Regions from separate parts of the Homo sapiens genome. Here region 1 is linked to region 2. Evidence: promoter capture Hi-C in 16 types of primary human blood cells and fetal thymus (Javierre and others, 2016). All regions are on one chromosome and are shown on one strand. The core of a region is centred on a gene start or on the middle of the fragment in contact, and the rest is flanking DNA. Distances in the headings are between cores, read along the strand shown. Region 1 overlaps MGAT1 (alpha-1,3-mannosyl-glycoprotein 2-beta-N-acetylglucosaminyltransferase). Region 2 holds the start of TRIM52 (tripartite motif containing 52).

Evidence for each region. The method cuts DNA at HindIII sites, captures the fragments that hold promoters and counts their contacts. A CHiCAGO score of 5 or more calls a contact.
Region 1: a contact is called between a fragment that was not itself captured here and the fragment with the promoter of TRIM52 in region 2, in 2 of 17 cell types (naive B cells and total B cells). The highest score is 7.0, in naive B cells.

What each region holds. Positions count from the first base shown.
Region 1 is chr5:180,782,265-180,786,878 of GRCh38, reverse strand. MGAT1 (alpha-1,3-mannosyl-glycoprotein 2-beta-N-acetylglucosaminyltransferase) reads left to right here. Exons shown (of 2, transcript NM_002406.4): 2 at 1-2,099. Among named protein-coding and RNA genes, the nearest start is that of MGAT1, 18 kb to the left of the region's middle. RefSeq lists enhancers at 22-932, 933-1,844. The HindIII fragment of the contact is 1,243 bases long and covers 2,148-3,390 here.
Region 2 is chr5:181,258,690-181,263,551 of GRCh38, reverse strand. It overlaps TRIM52 (tripartite motif containing 52), which reads left to right and starts at 2,409. Exons shown (of 2, transcript NM_001346048.2): 1 at 2,409-3,551. The coding sequence starts at 2,739. It overlaps TRIM52-AS1 (TRIM52 antisense RNA 1), which reads right to left and starts at 2,340. Exons shown (of 3, transcript NR_102762.1): 1 at 2,168-2,340. RefSeq lists silencers at 1,779-2,028, 2,139-2,288 and enhancers at 2,429-2,478, 2,659-2,708. The HindIII fragment of the contact is 14,499 bases long and covers 1-4,862 here.

The DNA of each region.
Region 1 (4,614 bases), core at 1,520-4,019, 480 kb after region 2:
CCCTTTATACCAGAACTGTAAGACAGTGTGTCAGAATGGATTCAGTTGCAGAGCAGGAAGCCTGGATCCCAGCGCCGGACGGAAATGAGAGGTCGATGGTGCAGGCTGGTGTGGGGGTTCCTCCACCGTCAGGGCCCAGGCTCCTTCTCAGGTCTCAGTCTCACTCTTCTTAGCACGAGGTCAGGTCTCATTCCTTGGCTGCGGGAGCTCCAGCCAGCACACGTTTTAGGAAGAAGGAGGAAGGAAGAAGGTAAAGGGTGGATGGCAGCTGCCTCCTCCTCTCTTGGAAGCTCACAGAGCGCTGGGTCACAATTCCCTGGGTAGAACTGGATCACACAGGCACCCCTGTCAGCAAAAGAGGCTGGAAAAAGTATTTCTGAAGCTGAATCAAATTAAGATTCCTGTTACTAAGAAGGGAGTGATTGTATGGGCGACTACAGGGACCACGGCCATACACGGTGCCTGGAAGACCAAGCTTGTGACAGTGACGAGGATTTGGAGAGGGCAGGGTGATGGGGAGCTTTGGGGGGAGTGCATTAGGAACCCTGACCTGGAGAGGGGCAGAATGAAACCTGCGGGCCCCTAACCCTAGTGGGTTGTTTGAGAAACCTGTCCTACTGTGGCAGGGGGCTGAGTCTTCTCAGGGTCATGCATGAAAACTGAAATTCCTGAAGGCCACACACAGCCCCGGAAGTGCTGACTGACAAGGGCACATGCCAGTGATGCAGTTTTCTTTTTTGTCTTCACTTTTGTTGTTCCGCCGTCTTCAACACATGGCTCCCAGCTCACAGCAAATGCTGCCCTGGTTCAGCTACCAGGAAGCAGGAGAGGGGAAGGGAGGGCAAGCCTCATTCTTTATGGAACAAAAGCAGTGGGCAGACAGCCTTCCCTCACGTTCCACTCACTGGAATGTGGTCTGGCTGCCTTCCCTGCAGGAGGTGGGATGCACCCTCAGTGCAGCAGCCCTGCCCCAGCCAAAAACGTCTCAGCACAGCTGTAAGAAGAGGAAGATGGCTAGAGACAGGCAGCCTTCCCTGCAAGGGCAATGAGGCAAGCCTGCCAAAAGCCTCCTTTGGAAATACTGTTTGATTACTTTTCAGAGTTTCTATTTAGGAAAAGGGCAAAACCTTTCAGGATCAGGAGTAGGTGAGCGGCGATCAGGCCTCACTCTTCACCGAGGGCCTTCCCTGAGGAGGGGCCTGCAGGACGCTGGCAGCGGAATGGGGCTGTGTGGCTGCTAGATTAGGTCATGGCAGGGAGACAGCCTCTTCCTGGTTCTTGCTAGAACAGGCACACTTGGGGCCTTGAGCTCCAGGGAGTTCATGGAAGACATCTGACTACCCTGAGCCCCTTGCTGGAGGGTTCTGGGGAGTGGCCCACGGCCACCGTCACCCATGGCCACCGTCACCCACAGGGGCCGTGAGGACATCCCTGGCCAGCATCTAACACAACCACATGGGATGCCCTAAGCAACTACTGCCCAGCCGAGGGCTGCCTGAATTTCTGACTCACAAATGGTGGGCAATGTGAAACGGGTATTTTAAGCTGCTGAGTTCTGCGGGAGTTTGCTGAGCAACAGTAGAAACCAGAACTCTCGGATACTGTGTTCTGTCCTTGAAACGGTGGAAGATTTTATGTGACCAGAATGGAATGTTTGAACAAATATTTTGAGAATAGAATTTTAAAACATTTACTCATCAGCATCCAAGGGTGGGGAGCAGTGTCATCTAGGAGACTGGTTCTATTATTTACGTAGATGTTCTTGAATTAAAGGATGGGAATATTTTTTCCTTCCAAAACTTTTTTTCAATTTTATATTCTGTTTTTCAAGTTTTTATTATGAAAATATTCAAACTCACAGGGAAGTTGAAAGACTAATACAAAGAAGAACCATACTCTTTCCACTGACATGATCCAACGAGGAATATTTTGCCACACGGCAAATATATACCGTATAATTTTCTGTACCACTTGATAGAAAGGTAAAGAATGAATATTGTTTTTTAAATAACTTTTTTCGTATATAAGTAATATGTGCTTATCGTGTAACTACCTAAAAACATTGAAAAATAAAAGGAAAATAAAATTCATACATAACCGCCCTGCCCAGATTAACTATCTTTGGTTCTTGGCTTGCTGAGCAAGCTTCTGACCTGAACTTGGTCTTCATTGGGCACGGCTGCCCTCTACTGACAGCTGGGAGTCCTCGGCCTCCTTATGAATGAATCAAGCCAGTTGGTTCTGAAACTGCAGAACAGAGCCTGATGGCCTCATACCTGGGTTTTTAAAAATCAAAATCTGGCCGGGTGCGGTGGCTCTCGCCTGTAATCCCAGCACTTTGGGAGGCTGAGGTGGGTGGATCACGAGGTCAGGAGATCGAGACCATCCTGGCTAACACGGTGAAACCCCGTCTCTACTAAAAATACAAAAAATTAGCTGGTCGTGGTGAAGGGCGCCTGTAGTCCCAGCTACTCGGGGGGCTGAGGCAGGAGAATGGGTGAACCCGGGAGGCGGAGCTTGCAGTGAGCCGAGATCACACCGCTGCACTCCAGCCTGGGAGACAGTGCGAGACTCCTCTCAAAAAAAAAAAATCAAAATCTTGGGTGAGGCCTCACCTGAAATATCAAGTGTGACTTCCCTGTCCTTGTCATATTGCTCCCTTGAATTGGAGCCTGCCCTGATGCCCGCCTGGCTCCAGGCCAAGCCCTAGCAGTTCTCCACCCCAGTTAGACAGCATGCAGCTGTGGTTCCAACGCCCCTCCCTCAGCTGAACCGATGCCCCTGATTCTCCCTAAATTCTCCTTTGTCCTTCAGTTCATCTTTCTTGTCCTTTTGCTCCAATCACATAGTGTGAGGGAAGACTCTCCTGAAACCATGTTTTCCCTCCGCTCTCACACTGCAACAATCATCTACACAGAAGAAGACTTCTGTGACCAAACGTGTGGGGACCTCTCCCCACTCCCAAGCGGTGGACGTCAGCCAGGTGTCCTCCAATCAGTTCCAACCCTGTCTACCTGGAGATAGTGCCAGATCCCACAGGTTGAGGGCTCCATCCCCAAGACTCATCCTTGCCCCACCCCACCAATCGAATGTTGGGGCCTCCAGAACTTCTGACCAACTGGGTTCAAGTTGGGGTTCCCACAACCCCCTCTTTGAGTTTGATTAATCTGGGGGAGTTGCTCACAGAGAATCAGTTTACTAAGAAGGATATTTTAAAGGATATGGATAATTAGCCAGACGAAGAGGTACATAGGGTGAGGCCTGGAAGCACAGGAGCTTCTGTTGCCGTGGAGCTGGGGTGCCCCACCCTCCCGGCATGTGGACGAGTTCTTCACCCTCCTGTCGGCCTCCACGTGTTCGGCCCAGTCCCCTTGGTTTTTTATGGAAGCTTCATGACTTTAGCATTCCTTCCCCCAGGGTATAGGATGGGACCCTCTCATGGGAGGGCCTTGAGTCCTGCCTCAGGGCAGTGGAAGGTCAGAGTCCTGCCCCTGAGGCCTGACTCACCCAACACTGTAACAAAAGACTGTAACAAGGGCTGTGGGAATTATGAGCCAGGAACCCTGGGTTGAAAACCAATACATAAACCAATATACGTACACATATTGTGAAGAGAAAATACAACTTGGGACCTCAAAATCACTAAGCCGAAGGGACAGATCAAGCTGGGAACTGTGTCACACAAACCTGCCTTCCATTCACAAATAAAAAAGCTACATGCCTCCCTCACAATTTGCCCTTGTGGGCAAGATCTTTACCCTAAAAGTGTTCTGTTGAATTCCACCCTGACAATGTAAATTGATAGTCTATCTTCGCAGTGATGGGACAAAGGAAAGAACTCAGCCATTTCTTTGCTCACCTGAGACAAATGCATATGTGATTGCTTCCTCTGCCCTACTTTATCTTATGTGAAAGTGCAGATTCACCCCAGCTAGCTGACTATTCCTTTGCCTCCCTTACATGTGGACGGCTGATCAAAGGCTCAAAAGAAGGCAACCACTTGCCTTTTATCTACCCACACCTTTTAAAAATGTCTTCCTCTTTCTGCAATACCTGCCCTTTTTCCTTTAAATATTGAAGCCCTCAAAATCATCTTTGGAGAAAGGCACAGACTTGGGTCCTGGGTGCATGTCCTTAACATTGGCAAAATAAACTTCTAAATTGACTGAGCTCTGTCTCAGATACTGTTTGGTTTACATGGTAACCATGAAGGGATTCTGAGTGGAGCTACCCCTGACCTTTGGCAAATCTCCTACGGGTACTTGGTGCCAGCTTGAGCTACCTTTATTGCTCAAATCAGTTGGACAATTTGCTGAGCCCTGGGAGCTCCTGTCTCCAGAGAATCCCTGATCTTCCAAAATCTGGTTGAGGTTTAAGGATTATTCTGCTGTGAAACTCTTTTTCTGGAGTTTTATTCACTTTCAACAAGGAGGGAGAGTTTTCCTGCTTCCATGATAATGGGGTGCAGGCAACTCCTTTGTGGAATTTCAGCCCACTTCCAACAGGGAAAGCAAGTTTGAGTTTTTTCCTACTTCTAGGATAGTAGTGTAGCAGGACCAGCCGCAGACAAAACTCCTCAGACACCGAGTTAAAGAAGGAAGGGGTTTATTCAGC
Region 2 (4,862 bases), core at 1,160-3,659:
ATATATGTGCAGGTCTATATTGGATCAGTATGTGCAATGTACTTCTTATTGAAGGGCAGGTAAAGAAAGAAAAAAAACCTTGTATGGGGCTGAGCGTAGTGGCTCACATCTGTAATTCCCGCACTTTGTAAGGCTGAGGCAGGACTGCTTAAACCAGGAGTTCAAGACTAGCCTGGGCAACATAGCAGGACCTCATCTCTACAAAAAAAAAAATAATAAAAATTAGCCAGATGTGGTAATGCACACCTGTAGTCCCAGCTACTTGGGAGGCTGAGGCAGGATGATCACTTGAGCCCAGGGGTCAAGGGTGCAATGAGCCATGATCATACCACTGCATTTGGCCTGGGCAACAGAGCAAGACCCTCTCTCAAAAAAAAAAAAAATCTAAAAGAGAATGGGTAAATCAGGCATAGTGGTGCATGCCTGTAGTCCCAGCTACTCCACAGGCTGAGGCGGGAGGATCACTTGAGTCCAGGAGTTTGAGGTGGTAGGGTGCAATAATCGTGACTATAAATAGCCACGGCACTTTAGCCTGGGCAACATGACGAAACCCTGTCTCTATAAAAAAATAAAGAAATTAGCCTGGAGTGGTGGTGCATGCCTGTGTTCCCAGCTATTCCAGAAGCTGAAGTGGGAGGACTGCTTGAGCCCAGGAGGTGGAGATTGCTGTGGGCCCAGATCGTGCCACTGCAGGGGGCTACAGGAGTCTAAAAGGGAGGGGACACAATTTCCCCAAATCTCCAATGTTGAGGAGTTCTGCCTACACTCCTTGCCCCAGGATGCCCCCAGCACCAAGGCCAAGAGGGTGTCTTGGCCCTCAGCACTGGGGTAGAACATCTGTACACAGAACCAGGCCACAGGAGAAGGCATACACAGAGCCCATGAGCACCAGCCCCTCTGAGCTGCGTCCAGCCCCCATCTCCATCCTCTGTTCTCTGGGACTACAAATCCAGGCCTGACCTGGTTCTATCCCTACCTGCAGAGACAGAAGACAGAAGGAGACAACCCCTGAGAAGCCTTTCCCCAGGGCCTGATTCCCCCTCCCACTGTAAGATCTCTCAGCCCGCACTTTGGGAGGCCGAGGTGGGCGGATCACGAGGTCAGGAAATCGAGACCATCCTGGCTAACAGGGTGAAACCCCGTTTCTACTAAAAATACAAAAAAAAAAAAATTAGCCGGGCGTGGTGGCGGGCGCCTGTAGTCCCAGCTACTCGGGAGGCTGAGGCAGGAGAGTGGCGTGAACCTGGGAGGCGGAGCTTGCAGTGAGCCGAGATCGCGCCACTGCACTGCATCCTGGGCAACAGCCAGACTCCATCTCAAAAAAAAAAAAAAAAAAAAAAACCTCTCAGCCCTGGATCAGGTCCCCTCTCCAGGAAAGGTGACAGAGTGGAGTCTAAATGACACTGCCCTAGGGCCCCGCTGGGGTGGAAAACAGACCCAGACAGCGCCCCCAGCCCTCCCTCCCCAGGGAGGAGTGAAGGGCATAACAGACAGCGGAGGACACCGGGACAGGAAGGAGGGGCCAGCCGCTCTCAAACTAAGTCTAAACCACGGCGGTGAGGAAGTGTGGTCCCAAATCCAGCCCCCTCCCGGCCGAGCTCACAGAGCTCAGGGCTGGAACTCGGAACCCTGGCCCGACGCAGGCGGCAGCACCGAAGGGAACTTGAGCCCCGGCCCCCTCAGGGGACCCACGACCGGGGCGCAGCTTTGCTGGCAGACGCCGCAATACTGCGCAGCCGCGGCCCCGCAAGCAGAAACAGGGCTGGGTCTGAGGCCTACGTGGAGCTGGGGCCCGACGGCTCACGGAAGGCAGCGGGGGGCACTGGGCGCCCCGGATCCGAGCCTCCCGGGCGGCAGGCCCTCCCAGCTGTGCGGCGCCCGGATCCCCACAAAGGCACCCCAAGCGCGGACGGCGGGACGGGCGACAGCACCAGGGTGGTGTCCCAGGCTTCCCCACCGCCGCGGACCAACTCGGCCCCGGCCCGGGCGGGGCTTCCGGAGAGATTTATCCCCCTTCCCTCTAACCTTCCTGGGGCTCCGGCTCAGGCTGGACAACGGCTCGGAGACCCAGTCCCCCTCAAGTGTTGACCCCCCCACCATCTAGAACCAGCCAACCCACCAAACCACCTCTCCCAAGCCGGGCCTCTTCCCGGCGTCCGCCGCTGACCTGATCAGAGCCGCTCTGCCGGCCCGAGGGAGCTGAGAAGGGGCTTGGGAATGGGGTCTTGAGGAGGGGCTGGCCGGAATGTGCAGCACTAGCCCAGCTGGAGCGGGCGGCGCGGGCGCGCCTGTCCCCCAGCCCACCCAACTCCCGGCCCGCGCGGCCCCCGGCACACCATAGAGACGTGGTCCTCCGCCGGCCTAGAGCGTCTCTCCAGAGCGTGTGCAGGAGCGAGACGTCATTTTGCGTCGCCTCGGGCAGGGTAGCCAGCGGCTGCATCTGAGGCGGACGCCGCAGTGTAGGGCACACCCTGAGGGTAGCGAGAGACGTGACAGGACCGAGCAGCTGGGGGCTGCAGCCTGCTCTGTCCCCACCGATCCCAGAGAGAGGCTGTGAGTCTGGATCTGGGCGTTCGCACCCTGAGAGAGGGGGTCAAAGCTCCCCTGCGGCCCCGAGGAAGAAGAGCAAGGTTGAGGACAGCCTCGGGTCACCAGAGTAGTTTGGAGGCAGGCCTGCAGGCGCGTCCCCGCTCCTCAGCTCCAAGCTGACGTATCTACACCTGCCGGCGGGCATTAAGATGGCTGGTTATGCCACTACTCCCAGCCCCATGCAGACCCTTCAGGAGGAAGCGGTGTGTGCCATCTGCTTGGATTACTTCAAGGACCCCGTGTCCATCAGCTGTGGGCACAACTTCTGCCGAGGGTGTGTGACCCAGCTGTGGAGTAAGGAGGACGAGGAGGACCAGAACGAGGAGGAAGATGAATGGGAGGAGGAGGAGGACGAGGAAGCGGTGGGGGCCATGGATGGATGGGACGGCTCCATTCGAGAGGTGTTGTATCGGGGGAATGCTGACGAAGAGTTGTTCCAAGACCAAGATGACGATGAACTCTGGCTCGGTGACAGTGGTATAACTAATTGGGACAACGTAGACTATATGTGGGACGAGGAGGAAGAAGAAGAAGAGGAAGATCAGGACTATTACCTAGGAGGCTTGAGACCTGACCTGAGAATTGATGTCTACCGAGAAGAAGAAATACTGGAAGCATACGATGAGGACGAAGATGAAGAGCTGTATCCTGACATCCACCCGCCTCCTTCCTTGCCCCTTCCAGGGCAGTTCACCTGCCCCCAGTGCCGAAAGAGCTTTACACGTCGCAGCTTTCGTCCCAACTTGCAGCTGGCCAACATGGTCCAGATAATTCGCCAGATGTGCCCCACTCCTTATCGGGGAAACCGGAGTAATGATCAGGGCATGTGCTTTAAACACCAGGAAGCCCTGAAACTCTTCTGTGAGGTGGACAAAGAGGCCATCTGTGTGGTGTGCCGAGAATCCAGGAGCCACAAACAGCACAGCGTGCTGCCTTTGGAGGAGGTGGTGCAGGAGTACCAGGTGAGAGAAATGAGGGAATGTGGGGGGATGAAGGGAGTGGAAAGGTAACTAGGAGAGCTGAGGAATGAGTAGCATTCCTTTCCCACCTCCTCAGGTACTTAGTTGCTAAACTTCTCTTTATTTGATGAGGGAGACACGGTGGAGAGAGATGGTCATATGGGTAAAAAAGGAGACACAAAACCATGAAGATTGGGGCAGATTGGCTTCCCCAGAGGAAGCTGAACAGATAATATGACGGTCACTGGAAGCGGACCACTACTGCTAATACTGGCAGTCTACCTAAGTGTAAGGGACGTGAGTAACAGATACCCAGTACTTCATTTCTCCCTAATGTGAGTCCTTGACCAATTCCCTGGGACAGGTACAGATAGGAATAGAAAGCCACAGTACTTGGAGATAATAGACATTTGGGACCTCAGCACAAGCAGTGTCAAAATAGATGTATTGGTAGACAGAAATGCCAGATGTGAGTCCTAAACTACTGATAGCAATTGGCCACACCCCCCCTCTGAAAGTCTGGGATTGCATCTCTACCTTCAGTGGGGTCCGTTTTCCTTCTAGAGAAAGGCAAAGCATATAAGCATCTTTGATGGATCAGAATGTGCCTCATATCCTGATCACTTTTCTTTCCTGGTATTTTATCATAGTGGAAGGAGTGCGGGATTTAGGATCAGATGACCTGGCTCTGCCACTTACTGTCTAGTCTTGGGCAGGTGTCAACCTCCTTGAGCTTCACTTTTTCCCTAGGATTGTAAGGATTAAAAGAGATCATATATGTTAACCATAAAGCACTAAACAAATGTTTGCTGTTTTATTTGGCTTTCTTGTAACTTGTCTTCCCTTGTTTGGGTGCTGATATGGTTAATGCCTTGCTTTCTAGTCTTGACTTCTAAGCATTAGATAATTGTCTCAATGACAATGAGCATGAGTACCATCTTCCTTACCAAAAGTCTAGGTAGATTTGACTCCTAGCAGTGCCCAAACGAAGGAGAGGTTGTCTTCAGGCCCATAAAGGTTGACCTGGATATGCAGCAGCCGCTGCTCACGTCTTAGTAGTGCTTTACAGTTTATAAAATATATTTCCTCGTGTTCTCCTATAGCAGTGGTTTTCAAATTGTTTTTTGACCAATTAGTGTGTCTTAAAATAAATGGGTCATGCCTAGCATTATCTCAAAATGAAGTAAGAGAAAATATTAGAACACATGGAACATAGTAAGGGTAAGTACTGCTTTATGAAACTTTTAAGTTATATATATATACATGTATATACTTCATCTAAAAATATATTGCTTTCTTTGAGTTGCAGTCAAA